Regions from separate parts of the Homo sapiens genome. Here regions 2 and 3 are each linked to region 1. Evidence: promoter capture Hi-C in human tissues and cell types (Jung and others, 2019). All regions are on one chromosome and are shown on one strand. Each heading gives the region's core, a stretch centred on a gene start or on the middle of the fragment in contact. The rest is flanking DNA. Distances are from core to core; before and after follow the strand shown. Region 1 holds the start of CACNA1D (calcium voltage-gated channel subunit alpha1 D). Region 2 overlaps CACNA1D (calcium voltage-gated channel subunit alpha1 D). Region 3 has its middle 46 kb from the start of CACNA1D.

What was found. Contacts are between HindIII fragments. The study calls those that stand out against the background at their distance.
Region 2: a fragment that was not itself captured here is called in contact with the fragment with the promoter of CACNA1D in region 1 in 1 of the 25 tissues and cell types used here (spleen).
Region 3: a fragment that was not itself captured here is called in contact with the fragment with the promoter of CACNA1D in region 1 in 1 of the 25 tissues and cell types used here (hippocampus).

Annotation. Positions count from the first base shown.
Region 1 is chr3:53,493,327-53,496,209 of GRCh38, forward strand. CACNA1D (calcium voltage-gated channel subunit alpha1 D) reads left to right here and starts at 1,285. Exons shown (of 48, transcript NM_001128840.3): 1 at 1,285-1,907. The coding sequence starts at 1,841. RefSeq lists enhancers at 734-1,233, 1,564-2,349, 2,350-2,883. The HindIII fragment of the contact is 18,707 bases long and covers 1-2,883 here.
Region 2 is chr3:53,526,381-53,529,302 of GRCh38, forward strand. The region is part of intron 3 of CACNA1D (calcium voltage-gated channel subunit alpha1 D); the gene reads left to right. Among named protein-coding and RNA genes, the nearest start is that of CACNA1D, 33 kb to the left of the region's middle. RefSeq lists an enhancer at 1-649. The HindIII fragment of the contact is 4,025 bases long and covers 1-2,922 here.
Region 3 is chr3:53,447,565-53,450,264 of GRCh38, forward strand. No RefSeq gene overlaps it. Among named protein-coding and RNA genes, the nearest start is that of CACNA1D, 46 kb to the right of the region's middle. The HindIII fragment of the contact is 3,106 bases long and covers 1-2,700 here.

The DNA.
Region 1 (2,883 bases), core at 35-2,534:
ACCCCCTCAGGAAGGCCTCTGGAGAGTCTTCTGTCTGGTCCCCAGTCTCTCTGCCCAGGTGCCCCCCAACAATTGAGGATGACTAGTGTGTTCTCTTTGGGTAAGGAGCACCTTCCCATAAACACTTATTTTTCTTAATTCACGCTGAGCTTTTACTTTATTTTCGCTTTAAAGTCACTGTTCTGAAACGTTCTAAAACGCCGTAGGAACATGCAGATAGGAACAAAAGCAAATAAATCGAATCCTGTGAAGTAACAAAGCAGACGCCCTTCTCCTAACAGGCAGCACAAAGCTAAATGAAAAATATCAGTCATCCACTAGATAAAGTATTTTCCCCTTTAGACAGGAGCTGCCGTTTGCAAATCTCCCCCACCCTAAATCCAAGCCAGCGAAGGTATCAAAAAATAAACTACTCCCTTCAGCTCCCAGACTGGAGGCAACAGTTTCAGCAGCACCGTCTATTTCCTTGAACAACACGAGCGGTTTGAAAGACCTTGGCTTTGACTTCCCTGTACCTGCCTCCAAACACACGTGGGGGCGGGGTGGGGTGGGGGGAGATATTGCCCCCCATCCCCGTTGCCTTCCGCGACGCCAGGCCAGGCGCAGGGCAGGGGAGAAGATGGGGGGCGCCCTGGATTCGCGGTTCCAGCTGCAGGCAGTTACCTGGGGTAGTGAGTGCTCTCTACAGACCCGGGCTACCCCAACCCCCCCGATTCCAGAAAGGGCCGGAGAAAAGCAGGGGGCGCCTGCCCCGCTCCGGAGCAGCCAGGGAGCCCGGCCGAGCCTTGACGAGGATGAGCTCGGAGACCGCAGCAGCTACCGCCCGCTAGCACCTGAGCTCCCAGGGGGCGGGGCCTCCTCCAGGTGTGCGCAGAGGAGGCCGGCGCGGAGTCGGGGCCGGCGCGGGAGCCCGAGCTGTCCCCCAGCCCAGAAATGCGCGGGGAGGAGCGGTTCATCCGCACCCCAGCGCCGCGGGAGACACTGGCGCCGCCTGCCTCCTCCGGGTCCCGGGGGGAGAGCGCACCGTGCGGCGCGGAGGGGGTTAACCGGGCAGCCCGCCGCTGGAGCGCGCTTAACCCTTTGGAGCCCGCAGGTCAGCCGGGCCAGGCTGGGGTGGCGGCACCCCGAGTCCCACGCGACGGCCACCCCGAGCGCGCAAGTGGTGCCGGGCAGAACCGCGCGCCGGGCTGCAGACCCGCCGGGGCGCGGCGCGGCGCGGGCCGTGGGCGGCTCGGGGCGGGCGGAGGGCGGGGGACGGCGGCGGGCGCGCAGCGTCGCCAGGGCGAAGCCGGCGTGCGGCGCGGCGCGGCGGGCGCGGAGCGAGCGGGCGGGCGAGCGCCTCCGTCCCCGGATGTGAGCTCCGGCTGCCCGCGGTCCCGAGCCAGCGGCGGCGCGGGCGGCGGCGGCGGGCACCGGGCACCGCGGCGGGCGGGCAGACGGGCGGGCATGGGGGGAGCGCCGAGCGGCCCCGGCGGCCGGGCCGGCATCACCGCGGCGTCTCTCCGCTAGAGGAGGGGACAAGCCAGTTCTCCTTTGCAGCAAAAAATTACATGTATATATTATTAAGATAATATATACATTGGATTTTATTTTTTTAAAAAGTTTATTTTGCTCCATTTTTGAAAAAGAGAGAGCTTGGGTGGCGAGCGGTTTTTTTTTTAAATCAATTATCCTTATTTTCTGTTATTTGTCCCCGTCCCTCCCCACCCCCCTGCTGAAGCGAGAATAAGGGCAGGGACCGCGGCTCCTACCTCTTGGTGATCCCCTTCCCCATTCCGCCCCCGCCTCAACGCCCAGCACAGTGCCCTGCACACAGTAGTCGCTCAATAAATGTTCGTGGATGATGATGATGATGATGATGAAAAAAATGCAGCATCAACGGCAGCAGCAAGCGGACCACGCGAACGGTGAGCAGCCAGAGCCCGGGCACCCGCTGCCAAATCCGATCCTGTCATGGTCCTCCAGCCCCCTCCCCCTTCCCCGCGGCGCTGGATGGGTTGAGGGGGTTGGAGAGGGTGCTGCCAGCTCGGTGTCGTCTACACAGAGAGGGGACATGCGTGACAGCCACTCCGCGCTCCCCTCCAGGCCCTGAATGTCAGAGTTAATTCTGCATTTGTGGGGTGGGGGCGGCCGTGGAGTGTGTGGAGCGCGGTGCAGCCGGAGGGGCGGCGAGTCGGGGTGATTCGGGTTCAGTGTCCTCGGGCTCAACTTTCCTTCAACGCCCCCGAGCGATGGCAGGAGGGCCGCAAGTCTTCAGCCGGAGCCCCCTTGCCAGCCTCTTCTCGCCTTCCACTCCTCCCCCGCCCCCTCGTTGACTAGGAAGAAGGTCCCTGGTGGCATCCGGAAAATTCTAGGATTGCCCGGTTTCGCCCTCCGCGCCGGTGGGTGAAGCACACCCATCCCCTCGCGGGGGAGGCCCGGCCTCGGTATCGGGGAAAGGGGTTCGGGTGGAGCGTGCGTTCCCGCTCCCGTCGCCGGCTGTGCACACGTCGGTAACCTAGCAATGCCCGGGGAGCCGCTGCCGCTGTGGGGCTCCCCTCCCCAGCTCTGGCCCGGGCACCACGTGCAGCTTCCACGCCGGCCGGGGCTGGGTCGAGGGAGGATGGAGCAGCTCCTGGCCAGCCCTCCCCTTTGGAGACCGCCAGTGCCCCCCAACCCCTGTCGGCTGGAAGCCTTTCCGGGTGAGCGCTCCCCTAGGGAGAAGCTTGACATGACTCGACTCGTCCCCGCTCCGATTGCCCGCCGCTCGCCCGCTTTGCCCTCTTCTCAGGCTTTCAGACCCGTGCTTGCTTTGACTCTTTACTTAGCAATAATTGGCTTTGCAAACGCCCATCTCTCTACCTTGCTGTCACCTCTCTCACTTCTGCTTCAGTGAGGAGACTG
Region 2 (2,922 bases), core at 362-2,861, 33 kb after region 1:
TAGCCTTAAGTCAGAATTTATTCCAGTATGAGTACAGCATCTTGTTACCATGTGGTTTTAGCTGCACTGTGGATTTAGACACCAAATCTTGTCTTCCCTGAGAACATTGTCCTTCCTAGAGGTGGGGTGGAAAACTTATTTCAGGTAAGCATTCGGACCTTGACCCTAACCTTAATGGTGATTACTGTTCGAGGTTTTTCAAACACATAGTGAATAAGGACAGCTGGTGCAATGGCACGCCCTCCAATTGGCTACGTTACACAGATAAACATTCTTAATCTTTCTGAGGTTTTGTATAGAAGAGTGGAGAATTGTACCAACTTTTCTCCCCCCGGTTGTACATCTTCACTTTGTCACCAAGCCTGGATTCCTCATCTGTAAAATAGTATCCCCTCAGAGTTGCTATGAGAAATAAATGAAGTGATTTGAGTAAGGCATGGCACCTGGAACATAGTACATCGTGCATAAGAAGCAGCTATTGTTATTATCTCCTAATTTGTCAAATGAGCAGGGCGTATTGCCAGATAAGCTCTTTAAAGTTTTAATGTTCACATTCTATAAATCTAGGAAAATCTTTCCTCCACTGCCCACCCACACTTGGATTTTGAGAACTGCATCTTCATTGAGGGTAACGTGTTAGAAAGCTCTCAAACATTATAGCCCTCACAGAATGTATAGTACTTCATAATTCACCAAGTACTTTCGTGTCCATTCTCTCATTCAATCCTAGAACAATCTATGATGAAACAAAGCAGGTATCACAATTCCTGTTTTATAGATCAGAAAACTTAGGGCTTAGAGAGATCAAATGACTTACCCAAGGGCATAGTGGCTGGAAGGTTGCAGGGCAAGGCCTATTGCCAGAATCTTCTCAGATATCCCATGTCTGTTGGAGCATTCTTCTACTCCAGTGTGGATTTGCCTTTCTGATGGCTTTGACTGGAGAACTGTATTGGGTAGTTCATCAAAATAAGAAGCCTTGAGTTCATATAGTGAAAAATAAGATCACCTTTTCCCTTTGTTCATTGGCTTGATTTATTAGGATTGTATTCTCAAACCTTTCCTGCTATTAAAGGAAATGACCTTAGTTTGTGTTGCATGAAATAGCATTAAGTCAAGTTTACAACATTTCAAAGTTATGGTCAGTAGCATTCCAATTAGAACCTAAAAAGCTTACCTAGCTGAGGTTTAAGTCGTTGATCTTGGAAAAGGTAAAGACTTCTCAGGGAGGTTGGGCTGCTGTGTATGACAGCTAGACCCTCAGTTCTTGGTCTGTTAACATGTGGCCCATTTCTTCCTATCCATGCCCCTCCATAAAGCTTTGTGCGCTGGTAGTATTTACAGTACTGGATGATAATTATGGCATTAATTATTTGAGATAAATGGAGTGTGCCCAGTAGCCAATAGACTATTGTTAGAGTATTATTAGTATTTTTATAGGTCTTTTGGATAGCATTCTATTTCAAGACATTTGAAAATGTAGACCAGATTAGTCAAAAGCATTGTACATGATCTGTCCATGAGTGTAGGCTCTCATTAGAACTTCTGGAATCATTCTGAAATATACCCAGCTAGATAATACTAAGTCATACCAATTAAAAGGAAAGACTTGAGTTTGAGTTATAGAATGTTGGAGAGAAATCTAGTTTATTACTTTTAATATTGAAGTCAAATTTTGATTTTTCTTTTATGGTTAATATTACCTGGGTCCTAAGAAAGATTGCAAACATGTTTTCTTACCTTTTTTCTTGTAGAAGCTTTATATGATGTTAGCTTTTGCATTTAGGTCTGTGGTCCATTTCAAATTAATTTCTTTTCTATGGTATGAGGTTGGGGTTAAGAGGTTAATTCCAGCCACCTCCCTTGTGGGTATCCAGTTGCTCCAGCAACATATGTTGAAAATGCTTTCCTGTCCTCATTTAATTGCTTTGGTACCTTTATTGAAAATCAATGGATCACATAAATTTGGTTCTGTTTCTAGGGTCTCTGTTCTGTTCCATTGACACATTTGTCTTTATGCTATCTCTGTACTGTTATTATTACTGATGCTTTGTTTTAAGTCTAAACATTGGATTATATAAGTTCTTCCATTTTTGTTCTCCACCCCTCACTACAAGATTGTATTGGCTATTCTAGGTCCTTTGCATTTCTATCTAAATTTTAGAATTAACTTGTCAATTTCTATAAAACAGCCTTCTGGGGTTTTGATTGAGATGACGTCGAATCTATAGGTCAATTTGGGGAGAAGGATAGCTTAAGAACATTGAGTCTTCTAATCACTGAGTGTGATGTATCTCTTTAGATCTTCTCTAATTTTTCTCAGCAATGTTATTAGTATAGAGGTCTTACATGTATTTTATTTATCCCTAATTTTTATATTATTTTTGATTTTATTGCACATAGAATTTTAAAAAGAATCTTCTAGTTGTTTATTACTAGTATATGGAAACATGCTTGATTTTTGTATATGTTGCCTTGTACATGCCGCCTTGTCACATTTACTTATTACTTCCAGTAGTTTTTGAAGATTCTTTAGAATTTTCTATGAACACAATTATTTTGTGAATAAAGATAGTTTTGTTTCTTCCATTCTAATACTTATTTATGTATATATGTATGTATGTATTTTTCTTGCCTTGTAACATTGGCTAAGACCTTCCATATGGTATAGAATAGAAATGGTAAGAGTGTAGACATTCTTGCCTTCTTCTTGAACTCAGAAAGTGTTTATTCTTTCATCACTGAGTACAGTGTTAGTTGGAGGTTCTGCATAGGTGTCCTTTATTGGTTGAGGAAGTTTCCTTCTGTTTCTATTTTCCTGAGAGTTTTTATTATGAAAGGATGTTGAATTTTGTCAAATGTCTTTTCTACATGTATTGAGATAATCATATGGTTTTTCTCCTTTATTTTATTGTGGTAAAT
Region 3 (2,700 bases), core at 88-2,587, 46 kb before region 1:
TTGGCCTGCCAAAGTGCTGGGATTACAGGTGTGAGCCACCATGCCCGGTCCATAAATATATTTTAAATGAATGAATGTGTATGTGCAGGACTTGTTCTCTGATAGGCTTAACAACAGGACAACTGGATTGGTGGATGGTTGGCTTTTTTTGTTTGAGATCCCCAAATATCAGCATCTTTAGGTCTTTGCCCATCTGCCATTCAGTTTCTCCAAGAAAGAAACTTACAGAATATTCTCCAGTCTATTCATCCACATTACATCCATATTACAGCCCATTCATGCAATCTCCCACTTGAGGTGTCTAAGAAGCCAACTGCCATCATCTTATAGCTATGCAGTGGAAAGGACTGAGGTTCTCATATTCAGTCTGCAGATTTTCCCTTATCTCCCAGTTTTCAGTTCTTTTCCTCAACAACTCTCTAGTCCCTAGGCTTATTGTCCTCTGATTTGGTCTTTTCTGATTCAATTTCTGTCTCCTGTGAGAAGGGGAGTCAGTTGAATATGCCAGGGGTTCGGATCCTGGGGGACTTACCTGCTGCCACTGGCATCCGTCTGGTACTTACATTTCTTGGTTTGATTCTTCCAGATTTTTTTTTGTTGTTTTTTGGAGAGACAGGGTTTTGCTCTGTTGTCCAGGCTGGAGTGCAGTGGTGTGATCATAGCTCACCACAGCCTCATATTCCTGGGCTGAATCTATCCTCCTGCCTCAGCCTCTCAAGTATCTGGGATTACAGGCATGTCCCACCATGCCTGGCTGATTCTTCTAGAATTCTTGAGGATGAATTAGCTTTTCTTTCACTGATATCTTCTTTTGTGTGTGCTCAGGTTTAACCTTTCTCTGTTCTGTTAAGTCATTTATCCTTTCTCTATCCATTTTCTGACTTTATATGGAGTTTCTCTTTGTTTTCTTCCTCATCTTGGAGAGAGTTTTGAGAGGAAAAGAATGCCATGTTGATACTGAAAATCCAAAAAAAAAAAAAAAAAAAATTCATCCAGATGTGTAACCTCTCTTTGGGGATAAGCTTAAAGTGTAACAATATTGATGACAAATGGAAAGTCTTATCAGAGGAAGCTTAATTCTGTACTAATGGGGAACATTAGGAAAAGGCTTCTAGACAACTCAAGTGTTAAATAGGATTGGAGGAGGACGAGGTGAGAGGTACCATCTACAGTCAATGATTCTGATAGTTCATACCTTTTGGCCCTGTAATTGCCGCTCTATGACTATGTCTTAAGGAATAACCAGAAACTTGGGCTAATAAATGTGCAATTGTGTTCATTGTTACTAGACATATGGTCTAAATTAGTGAAGCCATGGCAAAATAAAATATGATATACTCATTGATATATTAATATAGACTTTTTTTTTTTTTTTTTGCGACGGAGTCTCGCTCTGTCCCCCAGGCTGGAGTGCAGTGGCATAATCTCGGCTCACTGCAAGCTCCACTTCCCGGGTTCACACCATTCTCCTGCCTCAGCCTCCCGAGTAGCTGAGACTACAGGTGCCCACCACCACGCCCGGCTAATTTTTTGTATTATTAGTAGAGACGGGGTTTCACCCTGTTAGCCAGGATGGTCTTGATCTCCTGACCTCGTGATCCGCCTGCCTCGGCCTCCCAAAGTGCTGGGATTACAGGCGTGAGCCACTGCGCCCGGCCTAATATAGACATTAAAAGATATTTTTAAAGGTATTTTTTAAAAGTTAAAAAAGGTACTTTTTGACTGTTTAATGACATGAGAAAGTGTTCACAATCTATTAAATATATTAAATGATAAAACAAGATAAGTACATATTACTTTTATTGTAAGAAAGCTTTTTAAAGGCACAACTAAATTAGGGTGCCATTTAATTTATTTTCAACCATTTAAAAAGATTCCTAAAAGGTACACAAAGTGAGTGTTGTATAAACCAGAAGTACCAAATCATACCAAATTATGGTTTATAAATTAGTTTAAAAGAAAGCATTGGTTTCCTTTCTGAGGTACCCTTTTCTCCTATGGATAGGCATGAAAGGGAATAAAGCAGTCATACTCCTTTTCAAGGAAACCAATTACCTTTCCTTCAGACTGTTTGGTAAACTTATAAGCCTTCGCTTTCCAGCTTTCCAAAATAATCTTTGAATGTACTTTAAAAGAACAGCTTTTCCCAATAGTCTGCCAAGCTTTTAAAAAAAGAACTACTCTTGACCAAGTTTGGAAAAGTGCGTAAGTGTTCACTCCACATAAAACCAGTGTGTTCATTTCATAGAAAATTCCTCAGTATGTAAGACATTTTAGAGCATGCACATGGCCTGTGCTCTAATATTAGTTATTGATACTGAAAGCATTTTATTTAGGGAAAAATGATTTCCTTAGTGAAGATGTCAGTTTTTGTACCTAACCCCTTCACTACATAAAATGGATGTTGGGAAATGTCATGGCTCAGGAGATAAGCATCACCGTGAACCTTTGTGCTTAGCCTGCATTCATTTACTCGATTCACAGGGACAGAAACTGTATAGCTTCTAGGAGGGTACATCTAGCCTTTGGGCAAAGCAAGAGTTAGGATGATGAGCAAAAGTTAAATGAGGGTATGTGTCCTTATCTGTTTTCCTTGCTCTTATTCTTTGTGTTCTTTCTCTCCTCCCTGCCCCACCCCCAATTTCCATTGGAAATGGAGAGGATAAGTATTTATATTTGCTGTTCCACACTCACAAACAC